4 separate regions of the Homo sapiens genome follow, and all the other regions are linked to region 1. Evidence: promoter capture Hi-C in human tissues and cell types (Jung and others, 2019). All regions are on one chromosome and are shown on one strand. Each heading gives the region's core, a stretch centred on a gene start or on the middle of the fragment in contact. The rest is flanking DNA. Distances are from core to core; before and after follow the strand shown. Region 1 holds the start of NAT16 (N-acetyltransferase 16 (putative)). Region 2 overlaps MUC12 (mucin 12, cell surface associated). Region 3 holds the start of MUC17 (mucin 17, cell surface associated). Region 4 overlaps COL26A1 (collagen type XXVI alpha 1 chain).

The links. The method cuts DNA at HindIII sites, captures the fragments that hold promoters and counts their contacts. A contact is called where the count stands out against the background at its distance.
Region 2: a contact is called between a fragment that was not itself captured here and the fragment with the promoter of NAT16 in region 1, in 2 of the 25 tissues and cell types used here (mesenchymal stem cells and pancreas).
Region 3: the fragment with the promoter of MUC17 here is called in contact with the fragment with the promoter of NAT16 in region 1 in 1 of the 25 tissues and cell types used here (aorta).
Region 4: a contact is called between a fragment that was not itself captured here and the fragment with the promoter of NAT16 in region 1, in 3 of the 25 tissues and cell types used here (bladder, liver and lymphoblastoid cells).

What each region holds. Positions count from the first base shown.
Region 1 is chr7:101,178,781-101,181,632 of GRCh38, forward strand. NAT16 (N-acetyltransferase 16 (putative)) reads right to left here and starts at 1,513. Exons shown (of 4, transcript NM_198571.3): 1 at 1,262-1,513. RefSeq lists an enhancer at 1,294-2,016 and a silencer at 1,388-1,682. The HindIII fragment of the contact is 15,471 bases long and covers 1-2,852 here.
Region 2 is chr7:100,976,570-100,979,645 of GRCh38, forward strand. All of the region lies in intron 1 of MUC12 (mucin 12, cell surface associated), which reads left to right. Among named protein-coding and RNA genes, the nearest start is that of MUC12, 8.5 kb to the left of the region's middle. The HindIII fragment of the contact is 4,503 bases long and covers 1-3,076 here.
Region 3 is chr7:101,018,398-101,021,369 of GRCh38, forward strand. It overlaps MUC17 (mucin 17, cell surface associated), which reads left to right and starts at 1,684. Exons shown (of 13, transcript NM_001040105.2): 1 at 1,684-1,820. The coding sequence starts at 1,739. MUC12 (mucin 12, cell surface associated) reads left to right here. Exons shown (of 12, transcript NM_001164462.2): 12 at 198-539. The coding sequence ends at 239. RefSeq lists a silencer at 91-385 and an enhancer at 435-584. The HindIII fragment of the contact is 20,706 bases long and covers 1-2,972 here.
Region 4 is chr7:101,365,320-101,368,439 of GRCh38, forward strand. All of the region lies in intron 1 of COL26A1 (collagen type XXVI alpha 1 chain), which reads left to right. Among named protein-coding and RNA genes, the nearest start is that of COL26A1, 4.0 kb to the left of the region's middle. The HindIII fragment of the contact is 6,055 bases long and covers 1-3,120 here.

The sequences.
Region 1 (2,852 bases), core at 263-2,762:
CTCAGGAGGCTGAGGCAGGAGAATCGCTTCAACCCGGGAGGCCGAGATTGTGGTGAGCCGAGATCACGCTATTGCACTCCAGCCTGGGCAACAAGAGTGAAACGCTGTCAAAAAAAAAAAAAAAAAAAAAGAGGAATAACATTTCTCTCTTCATGTCTATCCCCACATCCTTGGGGACATTCTTTAAATCTCATAAATATGAATGATCTCTTTGGGGAGGGGGTGATCAGAGTCATAGCTGGGCATGATCGGAGTCAGAGCTGGGAATGCCGGCAGCCCACCCACCCGCACCCCACTCCCACCACACCCCACACACCTGAAATATCGATGCCCTTGAGGCCGATGGCTTCTTGACACTGGGGGAGGGAGGAGAGGGAGGGAAGGGAGAGCCCAGTCGCCGGAGAGGCGGAGACAAAGAAGGCAGCTGCACAAAGCGCCCAAAGATGAGAGCGAAAAGGACGGGAATGGAGGCAGAGAGCAGACAAAAGCGGACAGGAGATGCGGCCGCAGGGGACAGGCAGGGAAGCCGGAGGAGGCTTCGACACCGAATCACAGACATGACACCTCGTGACTCTGGGCCCAGCAGATGAAAAAAAAAAAATCCTAGCACGCACCCCCTCCCCTGGGACACTGTAAATAGAAAGCAGCGTGACACACCCCCTTCGCCCCGGGGTATGGGGGGCGGGGATCCGTGGAGGGGAAGGGGTCAAGGGGAAAAGAAAGTCAGAAAAAAGGCCGTAAGAGAACAACCTTGGAAACAGAGACGGGGAGAGGCGATGAAGTGGGGGCGGGAGAGAAGGCCTAGGGGGTGGGCAGAGGCAGGGGCCGAGGAAGATGGCCCAGCCAAAGGGGGTGGGGGGAGGGCCCCAGAGGGCCACAGTAGTGGAGAAGGGGGGGCTGTCCTGCAGGGTCTTCCCGAGTGAGGGTCTTCCCTCTGCCTCTACCCCGGATTGGGGGCTTGGGCTTGGGGGAGAGGGAGATTGCAAAGGGAGCGATCTGCTTGGCGGGGGTTCCCCTGGGCGCCGGACCCTGGGGACAGGTGGGAGCGACATGGCAACAGAGGGGGGCGGGGGAGCGCTTCTGGACACCTGAAGCGCAGCCTCTGACTCAGTTTTCTGGGTCTTCGGACTGGGAGGGGCTGGGCAGAAGGGGGCGCAGCCGCTTGGTCCCCCTGAGGGGCGGTGGCCTTCTGCTGCCCCATTCTGCGGTGGAGGAGCACGCTAGCCCCCTCCCCAGTCCCCAGGCCCGGCCGCCCCCCTACCTCGCCGGAGCCGGAGCTGGAGCCAGGGCCGAGATGCCGCAAAGCCAAGCGGGGCGGGCGGCGGGCGCAGACACCCCCGGTGCCAAGAGAGAGGTCCCTTTGGAGCCCCCAAGAGTCAAAGGAGGATGACGCGCGGGGACTCGGCCGCGCTGTCGGAGCCCGACTCTAACGTCGGTCAGCGCTGGGGCAGCGCCGCAGCTCCGTTGGCGACGCGGGCCGGGGCGCCCATCGGTTCAGGGGTTCGGGTGGCACGCGTGGCTCCCCCGGCGACGCTCCGGCGGCAGCTTCGAGGGGCGGAGACCCCGGCGACGCGGAAGAAACCCGGGACGGATCCGGAGCGGACTCGTGCCCTGCTGGCGGGGCCGGGGGTCGGGGTGCGCCCTGGGCAGCTGGGTGGCCTCAAGCCCTACTGGCGAGACTCCGCCCTGTGTCCCGGCTGGGGAGTGGGACTGAGGATGGTGGTGTCTCGGGTTTTGGTGGTGGTGATGCTGGTGTTGCTGGCTTAGTTATCTCCCCACCCCACGCCCAGCACCTCCGTTCTCTGTCCGGGGGTCCCCCACTGCCCTGAAGTACCCCTCCTCCAGGAGCCACCCCTCAATGGAATCTCCTCTCTCCATTATAAGAGCGGCTGGGAAGGGGACTCCGAGCCTTCGTCCCCGGAAACTGATAGAGGGAATCAGAAACCCTAGAACACCGGGAAGGCGAAGAGACATCAAGAGACAGAAGTTGAAAGGCTGAAAAGGGCAGAGGGAGGCCAAGATCTCTCCATCTTCTCACCACTGCGTGGGTGCCTGAGCACCCTGGTTCCCCGGGTGCACAAGGCCCCTAAATCCACAATGTACCCCACGGGACAGCAGGCAGAAAGACCTCCAGGTACACAGCGCACACCCAGGCACATTCACACAGACCTCTGCACTCAGGAGGCGCTGCACCCCACGCTGATCCTGGTGGCTGGGGAGGAAGAGGGAAGTGTGGAGCTGGGACCCGGGTGGGTGCAGCGCTGCCCCTGCTCTAATAAGGCGGTGGCCCAGGCTCTTAACTCCTACAAGGTTCTCCATCCCACCTATAAAGTGAGCTCAAGACTGGGTGCGGTGGCTCAAGCCTGTGATCCCAGCACTTTGGGAGGCCGAGGCGGGGGAATCACTTGAGGTCAGGAGTTCGAGACCAGCCTGGCCAACATGGTGAAACCCCGTCTCTACTAAAAATACAACAATTAGCCTGGCCTGGCCGGGCACGGTGGCTCATGCCTGTAATCCCAGCACTCTGGGAGGCCGAGGTGGGAGGATCACCTGAGGTCAGGAGTTCAAGACCAGCATGGCCAACATGGCGAAACCCCGTTTCTACTAAAAATACAAAAATCAGCCGGGCACAGTGGCCTGCACCTGTAATCTCAGCTACTTGGGAGGCTGAGGCAGGAGAATCGCTTGAACCCGGGAGGCAGAGATTGCAATGCGCCGAGATCGTGCCACTGCACTCCAGCCTGCGCGGCAGAGCGAGAATCCAACTCAAAATAAAATAAAATAATAAATAAAGTGAGATCAGAACACCTTCAGTTCTACCCTGTAAGGAGCCAGGAAAGTGATGGACAAAG
Region 2 (3,076 bases), core at 80-2,579, 200 kb before region 1:
CTCCAGCCTGGGCGACAGAGCGAGACTCTTTATAAAAAAAAAAAAATGCAAATATTCATTGAGGGTTTGCTATGTGCTGGACACTTTTATAATATTATCTCATTTAACTTTTACAACATTCCTAAGAAGAAGGATGTGTTACTGATTTTGGGTTTTTATACGTGGGGAAACAGGCACAGAGATGATAAATAATTTGCTCGGTGGGGCGTGGTGTCTCACGCCTGTAATCCCAACACTTTGGGAGGTCAAGGCAGGCAGATCACGTGACATCGGGAGTTCGAGACCAGCCTGGCCAACATGGTGAAACCCCATCTCTACTAAAAGTACAAAAATTAACTGGGCATGGTGGCAGGTTCCTGTAATCCCAGCTACTCAGGAGACTGACGCAGGAGAATCACTTGAACCCTGGAGGCAGAGGTTGCAGTGAGCCGAGATCGTGACACTGCGCTCCAGCCTTGGTGACAGACCAAGACTCCATCTCAAAAAAAAAAAAAAAAAAAAAAAAAAAAAAAAGAAATTGCTCAATACCACCCATTCATCAGTTGGAGGAGTCAGGATTTGAACCTAAGCTTTCCAGCTCCAGGGTCCCCATTTTTTACCACTTGCTATAATTGGGGATGCCTGTGTGTATGTGTTCCCTAGGTCTGCCACAATAAATTAACAAACACTATTGGTGGCTTCAAGCAACATAAATTTATTCTCTTACAGTTGTGGACGCCAGAAGCTTGAAGTCAAGGTCATCATGAGTGCCACATTCCCTTCAAACTCTCTAGAGGAAGATCTCTCCTTGCCTTCTCTAGCTTTTTTTTTTTTTTGAGACGGAGTGTCTTTCTGTTGCCCAGGCTGGAGTACAGTGGTGCGATCTCGCCTCACTGCAACCTCTGCCTCCCGGTTCAAGCAATTCTCCTGCCTCAGCCTTCTGAGTAGCTGGGATTACAGGCACGCGCCACCACGCCCGGCTAAGTTTTGTATTTTTAGTAGAGACGGGGTTTCACCATGTCGGTCAGGCTGGTCTCGAACTCCTGACCTCGTGATCCACCCACCTTGGCCTCCCGAAGTGCTGGGATTACAGGCATAAGCCACCGTGCCTGGCCAGCTTCTTCCTTTTTAAAAAAATGTTTATCTCGTTATTTAGAGGCTGGATTATGAGACTGGCTAATTTTTGTATTTTTTTTTCTTGTAGAGACGGGGTCTTGCTATGTTGCCCAGGCTGATCTCAAACTCCTGGGCTCAAGCAATCCACTGGCCTCGGCCTCTCAAAGTGCTGGGATTACAAGCGTGAGCCACCGTGCCTGGCCAGCCTTTTCTAGCTCCTGTTGACGCCTGGTGTTCCTTGGCTTGTGATAACATCACTCCGATCTCTGCCTCATCGTCTTTGGGCATCTTTCCTGTACGTCACACCTCTCTCTCTTTTCTCTGACAAGTATGCAGATTTAGGGCCCATCCTAAATCTGATCTTGAGATCCTTGACTTAATGACATCTGGAAAGCCCCTGTTTCCAAAGAAGGTCGCGTTCCCAGGTACCAGGAGTTAGGACTTCGAGGATATATTTTGGGGTGATCCTATTCAATGCGCGATACCATGCTTTAGCCTCAACTGGTGGCTCTTGCTTTTAAGAAGCAGTGACAGTGCCTGCTGGCACTAGAAAGCCAAGAAGTCCATCCACCGCCATTGGTGTGTGCAGGGGTTGGGGTGGCCCCAGCTCTATCTCTACCTCTACAACTCAGCCAGGAGCCAATGAGCTTATGTTAAAGGAATAGACCCAGGCTATCTAGCTCTTGTGTGGCAGAGCAGAATGTGCACCTAGAACTGGGGGACCCCAGCTCATCCCAGTGCCTCCCATAACATTGTAGAATATTCTAGAGTGATCAGGGTGGCAAGAACAGGCATCATTTACTCTCATTTTCGAGGGAGAAATGGAAGTTCAGAGAGGTTCGCTGGATTGCACAAGGTCACACAGCGGTGTACAGGTTGGTCTTGGAGACATAGCAAGGACCCTCCCTCCACACCCCGTGGGGGCTCCCCACACTGCCACTGCCTCTTCAGGGGAGCTGCCACTGGGGACTTCATTGACTGATTTTGTCACAAGCAGAAATATGTCCTGGAGGTGGCAGGAGGAGACAGTTTCAAAGCTTGGTGATGGTCTTCAGACTTGTCCTTGAAGAACCTTCTAATGTGTGTCCCCAAGCATGCCACGATGTGAAAGGTTTGCCTGAAAAACCAGCTGCCTTAATTAAATAATAATCTATTTTATTTTAGAGACAGCGTCTTTCTCTGTTGCCCAGGCTGGAGTGCAGTGGCACAATCATAGCTCACTGCAGCCTTGACCTCCTGGGCTCAAGTGAGCCTTCTGCCTCAGCCTCTCAAGTAGCTGGGACTACAGATGTGCACCACCATGCCCAGCTAATTTTTAAATGTTTGTACAGATGGGGGTCTCGCTATGTTTTCCAGGCTGGTCTTGAACTCCTGGCCTCAAGCAAACCTCCTGCCTCAGCCTCCCAAAGTGCTGGGATTACAGGTGTGAGCCATTGTCCCTAACCTTAATCTTTTTAAAGAAAAATCCAAATACATGTGGAATGTAGAAGCAGTAAACACTGTAAATGGGCAAGAAAGGACTCAACTTAATTCATTTAATGAGATACCATGTCATTACTCTCACAGAGAAAAAAGCTACCAAACTTTACCTGCTTAGCAGGAGAGGGAGCTGGCATCTTTAATGACCAGTGGCTGCAATGTAGGCAAATAGGCAATTTTTGTTAAGCATTTTGACTACAAAGGTCTGGGGAGTGCCAGCTTGGAAATTGTTACCAGTGAATGATTTTCCATGGGTTCTCCAAGGGGTGACATAAGGCATACCTATAATAAAATAAAATAAAACAGAATAAAATAAAGCAAAATAAAATAAAATAAAATAAAATAAAATGTATATAGGCAGGGCACGGTGGCTCATGCCTGCAATCTCAGCACTTTGGGAGACCAAGGCAGGCAGATCGCGAGGTCAAGAGATCGAGACCATCCTGGCCAACATGGTGAAACCCCATCTCTACTAAAAATACATTAGCTGAGCCTACTGGCA
Region 3 (2,972 bases), core at 434-2,933, 160 kb before region 1:
CCCTGGGGCCACCCCTTCCCCTGGGACTCCCCCCTCCCCCGCCACTCCCTCCTCTCCCTAGGACTCCCTCCCTCCCCCTGGGACTCCCTCCCTCCCCCTGGGGTTCCCTCCTCCCCGCCAGGGCTCCCTCTTCCTCCTGGGGCTCCCCCTTTCCCGGGTCTGCCCCTTGGCCTCACCTCTTCTCTCCCGTCCCCCAGCTCCACATCCAGAGGCCGGAGATGGTAGCATCCACTGTGTGAGCCAACGGGGGCCTCCCACCCTCATCTAGCTCTGTTCAGGAGAGCTGCAAACACAGAGCCCACCACAAGCCTCCGGGGCGGGTCAAGAGGAGACCGAAGTCAGGCCCTGAAGCCGGTCCTGCTCTGAGCTGACAGACTTGGCCAGTCCCCTGCCTGTGCTCCTGCTGGGGAAGGCTGGGGGCTGTAAGCCTCTCCATCCGGGAGCTTCCAGACTCCCAGAAGCCTCGGCACCCCTGTCTCCTCCTGGGTGGCTCCCCACTCTGGAATTTCCCTACCAATAAAAGCAAATCTGAAAGCTCAGAATGAGAAGTGAGAGGTTTCCTTCTCCTCCTTCTGCAGTTGGGGTCAGGTTAGGGGTCAGAGCCCTCCTGGGATGGGATTTCTCCCAGGACTGGCTGCTGAATGGGGCATGGAACGAATGCTCTGGGCCCCTTCCTGTGTCTTTGCAGGGAGCCCCCTCCCCGGCTCCAGTCAGGACAGGTCTAGGCCTGCCTCTGCTGAGGTCCCTGTGGCAGAAAAGCCTAATGTCAGGTTCTGGGGACAGGAGAGGACCTCAGATTCAACCCCAGTTGGCCAGGGAGTGAGCACTTGGCTCTGCTGAGCTTGCACAAGGCAGGGTCACTCCAGATGGCCATGGGAGCTGTGCTTACCTCGGAACCCACAGACCAAACCCAAGAACTCCCTGCCCAGGCATGGCCATGTCTTCAGGGCATACTCATAGGACAATAAGAAGGGTTATTTTATTTATTTATTTTTGCCGAGACAGAGTCTTGCTCTGTTGCCCAGGCTGGAGTACGGAGGCACGATCTTGGCTCTCTGCAACCTCCGCCTCCCAGGTTCAAGCGATTCTCCTGCCTCAGCCTCCTGAGTAGCTGGGATTACAGGCGCCCGCCACCAAGTCTGGCTGATTTTTGTATTTTTAGTAGAGATGGTGTTTCATCATGTTGGCCAGGTTGGTCTCAAACTCCTCATCTCAAGTGATCTTCCCGCGTCAGCCTCCCAAAGTGCTGGGATTACAGGTGTGAGCCACCATACCCGGCCAATAAGAAGGGTTAGAAAAGAGACAAAGGGGGTGTCCCTGCTAGGGGTTAGGGTCAAATGCAGGTGGTACCCTCCTCCTTTCCCAGCTCAGGCCCAGTCCCTCTTGCCCATCTCCCACCACCCTCGGTCGGGGGATCTCATCAGTTCCCCCCTGGCTCCTACAGGCCCTCTGGGCTGCCCCTCTGTTGGGGTGATAAAGCTGATAACCCTCATGCCTATGGGCTGCCGGGCCAGGGAGAGGCACCCCCTCCCTCTGCCCTTTGGCCTGAAACAGGCCCTGCGCCCCAAGTCATGAGGGAAGCTTCCAGACTGACTCAGGCTCAGGCTGGCCCCTGATCCCCAGTGTCTCAGGGACCAAAGGTCTCTGGCACCCATTTATTTATCAGTTTCCTTCTCTGAGGCTCATTTCGCCAGCTCCTCTGGGGGTGACAGGCAAGTGAGACGTGCTCAGAGCTCCGATGCCAAGGCCAGGGACCATGGCGCTGTGTCTGCTGACCTTGGTCCTCTCGCTCTTGCCCCCACAAGCTGCTGCAGAACAGGGTGAGTGACCCCCACGCCCCGCTGCCCAAGAGGCCCCCATCCCAGGGGCCAGCCTGCTCTGTCTGCCCATCCCCGAGGGAGAGCTGCCTCCAGGACACCAATAGGGGTGTGCCCTCTGCCTGGAGCTCAGCCCTGTGCCTACCCCCTGGACTTCTCTTCTCTCCCCAGCGAGCTTTGGGGGAAGAGCCAGGGCATTGGAGCCTCTTCCAGTTGAGGTCTCTGAGCCTTAGTTTCCCCTTCCGAGCCTCAGTCTCCCCTCCGGAAAGTAAGAATAATAACACCTGCTTTTCAGGGCAGCTGCTAGGATTGAAAAGAGCTCCCCCCCCGAGGCATGATCCCTGGCACAAGACTGGTGTTCAACCCATATTAGAGTCTATCCTTACCCAGTGAATGTTCCCGCCAAGTCCCTGTCACCTCCCACACCAGCACACCCTGCTGTGTGCCCCAGGAATGTTTCCGGGACATAGCCACATGGGCACAAAATGGCGTTTCAGGAGCCCCAGATTCTAATCCTGCCATGAACCAGCTGTGCACCCTGGGGCCGCTCAGTTCATCTCCTGCCTCAGTCTCCCCAAAAGACAAGGCATTAGGACCTCTGAGGATCATTCCAGCTCAGCCGCTTTGGGCTTCATGGCCACAGGGACCCCGGGGGGCTCAGAGCAGGAGGGATGACAGTGGGTTCCAGCTGGACTCTCTGGGAGCTCCCTCTGCCCCTCACCTGCCCCCAGAGAAGGGCGCAGGGGAACCAAGACAGAAACTGGACCCATAGACCTCAGGGTCCCTGCCCCTCGAGATGTCACCCTGTGGCAATCTCACCCAGATCTGCCAGCCCATTCGTTGTAATGAAAACACTCCTTTCCTTGCACTTTCTGTGCCTTCCAGACCCTTGGTGATGTATCTCTAATAACAGCATCTTAGACATGATCTTTTGTTTTCCTCCCCAACCCTCACCTCTGTCTCCTCCTTTTTTTTTTTTTTTTTTTTTTGAGACGGAGCCTCGCTCTGTCACCCAGGCTGGAGTTCTGTAGCGTGATGTCAGCCCACTGCAACCTCTGCCTCCCGGGTTCAAGCGATTCTCCCGCCTCAGGCTCTTGAGTAGCTGGGATTACAGCCACATGCCACCATGCCCAGCTAGATTTTGTATATTTTTAG
Region 4 (3,120 bases), core at 247-2,746, 190 kb after region 1:
TCTAGGAAACCATTTCAGCAGTTAATGTTATGAAGAAGTCTAGGGCTGGGCCAGGGGACTGTCCCATTTTCCCTCTGTCTGCTTGTGGCTTGTCTGAATGTTTTTCTGGTTTCTGTGTTTTTTTTGAGACAGAGTCTCGCTCTGTCTCCCAGGCTGGAGTGCAATGGTGCAATCTTGGCTTACTGCAACCTCTGCCTCCCAAGTTCAAGTGATTCTCCTGCCTCAGCCTCCCAAGTAGCTGGGATTACAGGTGCCCACCACTGCGCCTGGCTAATTTTTGTATTGTTGGCCAATAAAAAATGTAACGTTGGCCAGGCTGGTCTCAAACTCCTGGCCTCAAATGATCTGCCTGCCTCAGCCTCCCGAAGTGCTGGGATCACAGGCATGAGCCACTGTGCTTGGTCCCTAAGAGAACCTACTGGCCGGTACGGGGATTGAATGGATGTTTTGCAAGGAGCGTATATTCATGTAATACTTTTGTAATTAAAAGGTGTGGGAAGGAAAAAAAAAAAGGTGTTTGCAGCCTGAAATACGCCTGCAAAAAAGCAAGAGGTGAGGACCATGAAGAGCGGGAGCGAATGGGGACCTCATTCTGGCATTTGGTGGGTTGGAACTTGGGGACATCTGCAGAAACTTGGAAGGGATCATTTTAGCACAAACAAAAAGAGGCTCAAACAAGTGTGGAATCTTCCAGAACTCTTTCCACCAGGATAAGAACAGGGAGAGGATATAATTAGGTTTAGGGAGGATGTGGATGAATCTGTGGGCAATGGATTCCTAAAAAGGATACCAGAAGGTGTTGGGGAGGCTTGGGGCACATTGATATTCCAGAGTGTGACTGAGTCTCTTTGCCCAGAAAGCCCAGCGTGGGCATTGCAGGCACCTGGTTGTTGCCTGGGTGAGTTACAGGCTGGAGCTGGCTTGGGCGTCACATGTTTCTGTGTCTCATGAGCTATCTATCACAAGTGTCCCTTGTCCTTGAGATCCAAGATGTCCAGAAGCTGAAGGCTTGGGGACAGCAGTGGTCCTTGCAGCCTTGGCCTTCAGTAGTGTGTTTACCGGGGCTTGGCTTCAGTTGACAGGCAATGATGACAGGGCTGTTTCTTGACAAAGAGTGCTTTAATTTCATTGTTACTGCTCCTTGTTAACGTCTGATTTTTTTTTTTTTTTTTTTTTTTTTTTTTTTTTTTTTTTTTTTAAAGACAGGGTCTTGCTCTGTCACCCAGGCAGGAGCGTAATGGTGCAATCATAGCTCACTGCAGCCTCGACCTCCTGGGTTCAAGCAATCCTCCCACCTCAGCCTCCTAAGTAGTTGGGACCATAGGCATGGGCCACCATGGCTGGCTAACTTTTAAATTTTTCATAGAGGTGGGGTCCTGCTATGTTGCCCAGGGTGGTCTTGAACTCCTGGCTTCAAGTAATCCTTCAGCTTTGGCCTCCCGAAGTGTTGGAATTACAGGTGTGAGCCACTGTGCCTGGCCAAAAAGCAGTTTTTAATTGTTAGTTTGTTCAAATCAGGATCTAAATAAGTCTGCTTATTGGTTATTCTGTCTTTTCTCTCCCTTTTAGTGTAGGAAAGTCTTCCCCCTTTGAGAGAGTACTTTTTCCTCCACGCTGTTGACTTGTTGAAGACCAGTTGTTCTCTGCGATGTCCACGTACTAGATTTAGCTATTTCCTTCCCAGTGGTGTAGTTAACTTGATCTGCAATGTCCACGTACTAGTTTTGACTAATTGCTTCCCAGTGGTGTAATTAATTGGATCCTCTGCCCCCTGTATCTCTTCTATTTTGGAAGTTAGGTTGGAAGGTTTGATTAGATTTATGGTCTCTATTTGGGCTTGCTGGGAGAGACAGAAATTCTTCATAGGTGGTCTAGTCTACCATATTATATCAGGAGATGCTCTGGACTGATGTGTGTGTCCCCACCAAATTCATATGTTGAAGCCCTATCCTCCAATGTGGTGGTATTTGGAGGGGGGACCTTTGGAGGTAACTAGATTTAGATGAAGTTGTGAGGGCTGTGCCCCATTATTTGATTAGGGATGTTATAAGAACAGGAAGAGAGGCCAGGTGCGGTGGCTCATGCCTGTAATCTCAGCACTTTGGGAGGCCCAGGTGGGTGGATCACCTGAGGTCAGGAGTTTGAGACCAGTCTGGCCAACATGGTGAAAACCCGTGTCTACTAAAAATACAAAAATTAGCCGGGCGTGGTGGTGCACACCGGTAGTCCCAGCTACTTGGGAGGCTGAGGCACTAAAATCGCTTAAGCCCGGGAGGCGGAGGGTACAATGAGCTGAGATCATGCCACTGCACTCCAGCCTGGGCAACAGAGTGAGACTCTGTCTCAAAAAAGAAAAAAAAAAAAAAAAAGAAGAAGAGAAATCAGAGCTCTCTCTCTTTGCCATGTGAGGACACAGCACAGCAAGAAGGTGGCTGTCTGCAAACCAGAAAGAGAACCCTCACCAGGAACTGAATCTGCCAGCACCTTGATCTTAGACTTCCCAGCCTCCAGGGCTATGAGAAATAAATGTCTGCTACTTAAGCCATTCAGTCTGTGGTATTCTGTTACGGCAACCTTGAGCTGACTAACAGAAGGATGTGGCTTTATTCTGGAAAGCTGGGTGTTAAATATTCAGCAGAACACCACTGTCTACAAGTCTCCTCCACTGTCTCCCTTCTTTTTGTTGCAATTTATTTGTTGAAGAAACTTGGCCTTCTAGATTGTTCCTTTTTCAGGATTTTGTTGGTTATATGCTCATGGTGCCTGTGAACATGTTCATCTGTCCTCTTTATTTCCAGATAATGGGAAATTAGATCAAGAGCTTGGTTGGATCTAGTTCTTCCTCCTCCTTCGTTTTCTATTTTGGCAGAATTACATCTTGGGTGCTGTAGTGTTTTTCCATTGGAAATCACAACGTCTGGTTGTCTCTCTTTTTCTCTCGTGATGCTTGAGGTGTTGGTGATCATTGCGTATGTCATTCTTTCATTAAGGATCGCAAAGTGGATGCAAGACAGGCAGGCCCCCAAATTGGGGCTTAGCCAGGAGGGTTCTTGGCTTCACCCAGGAAAGAATTCAAGGGTGAGTGGGTGGTTTCAGACAGCAACTTTAATTGATGTGGCA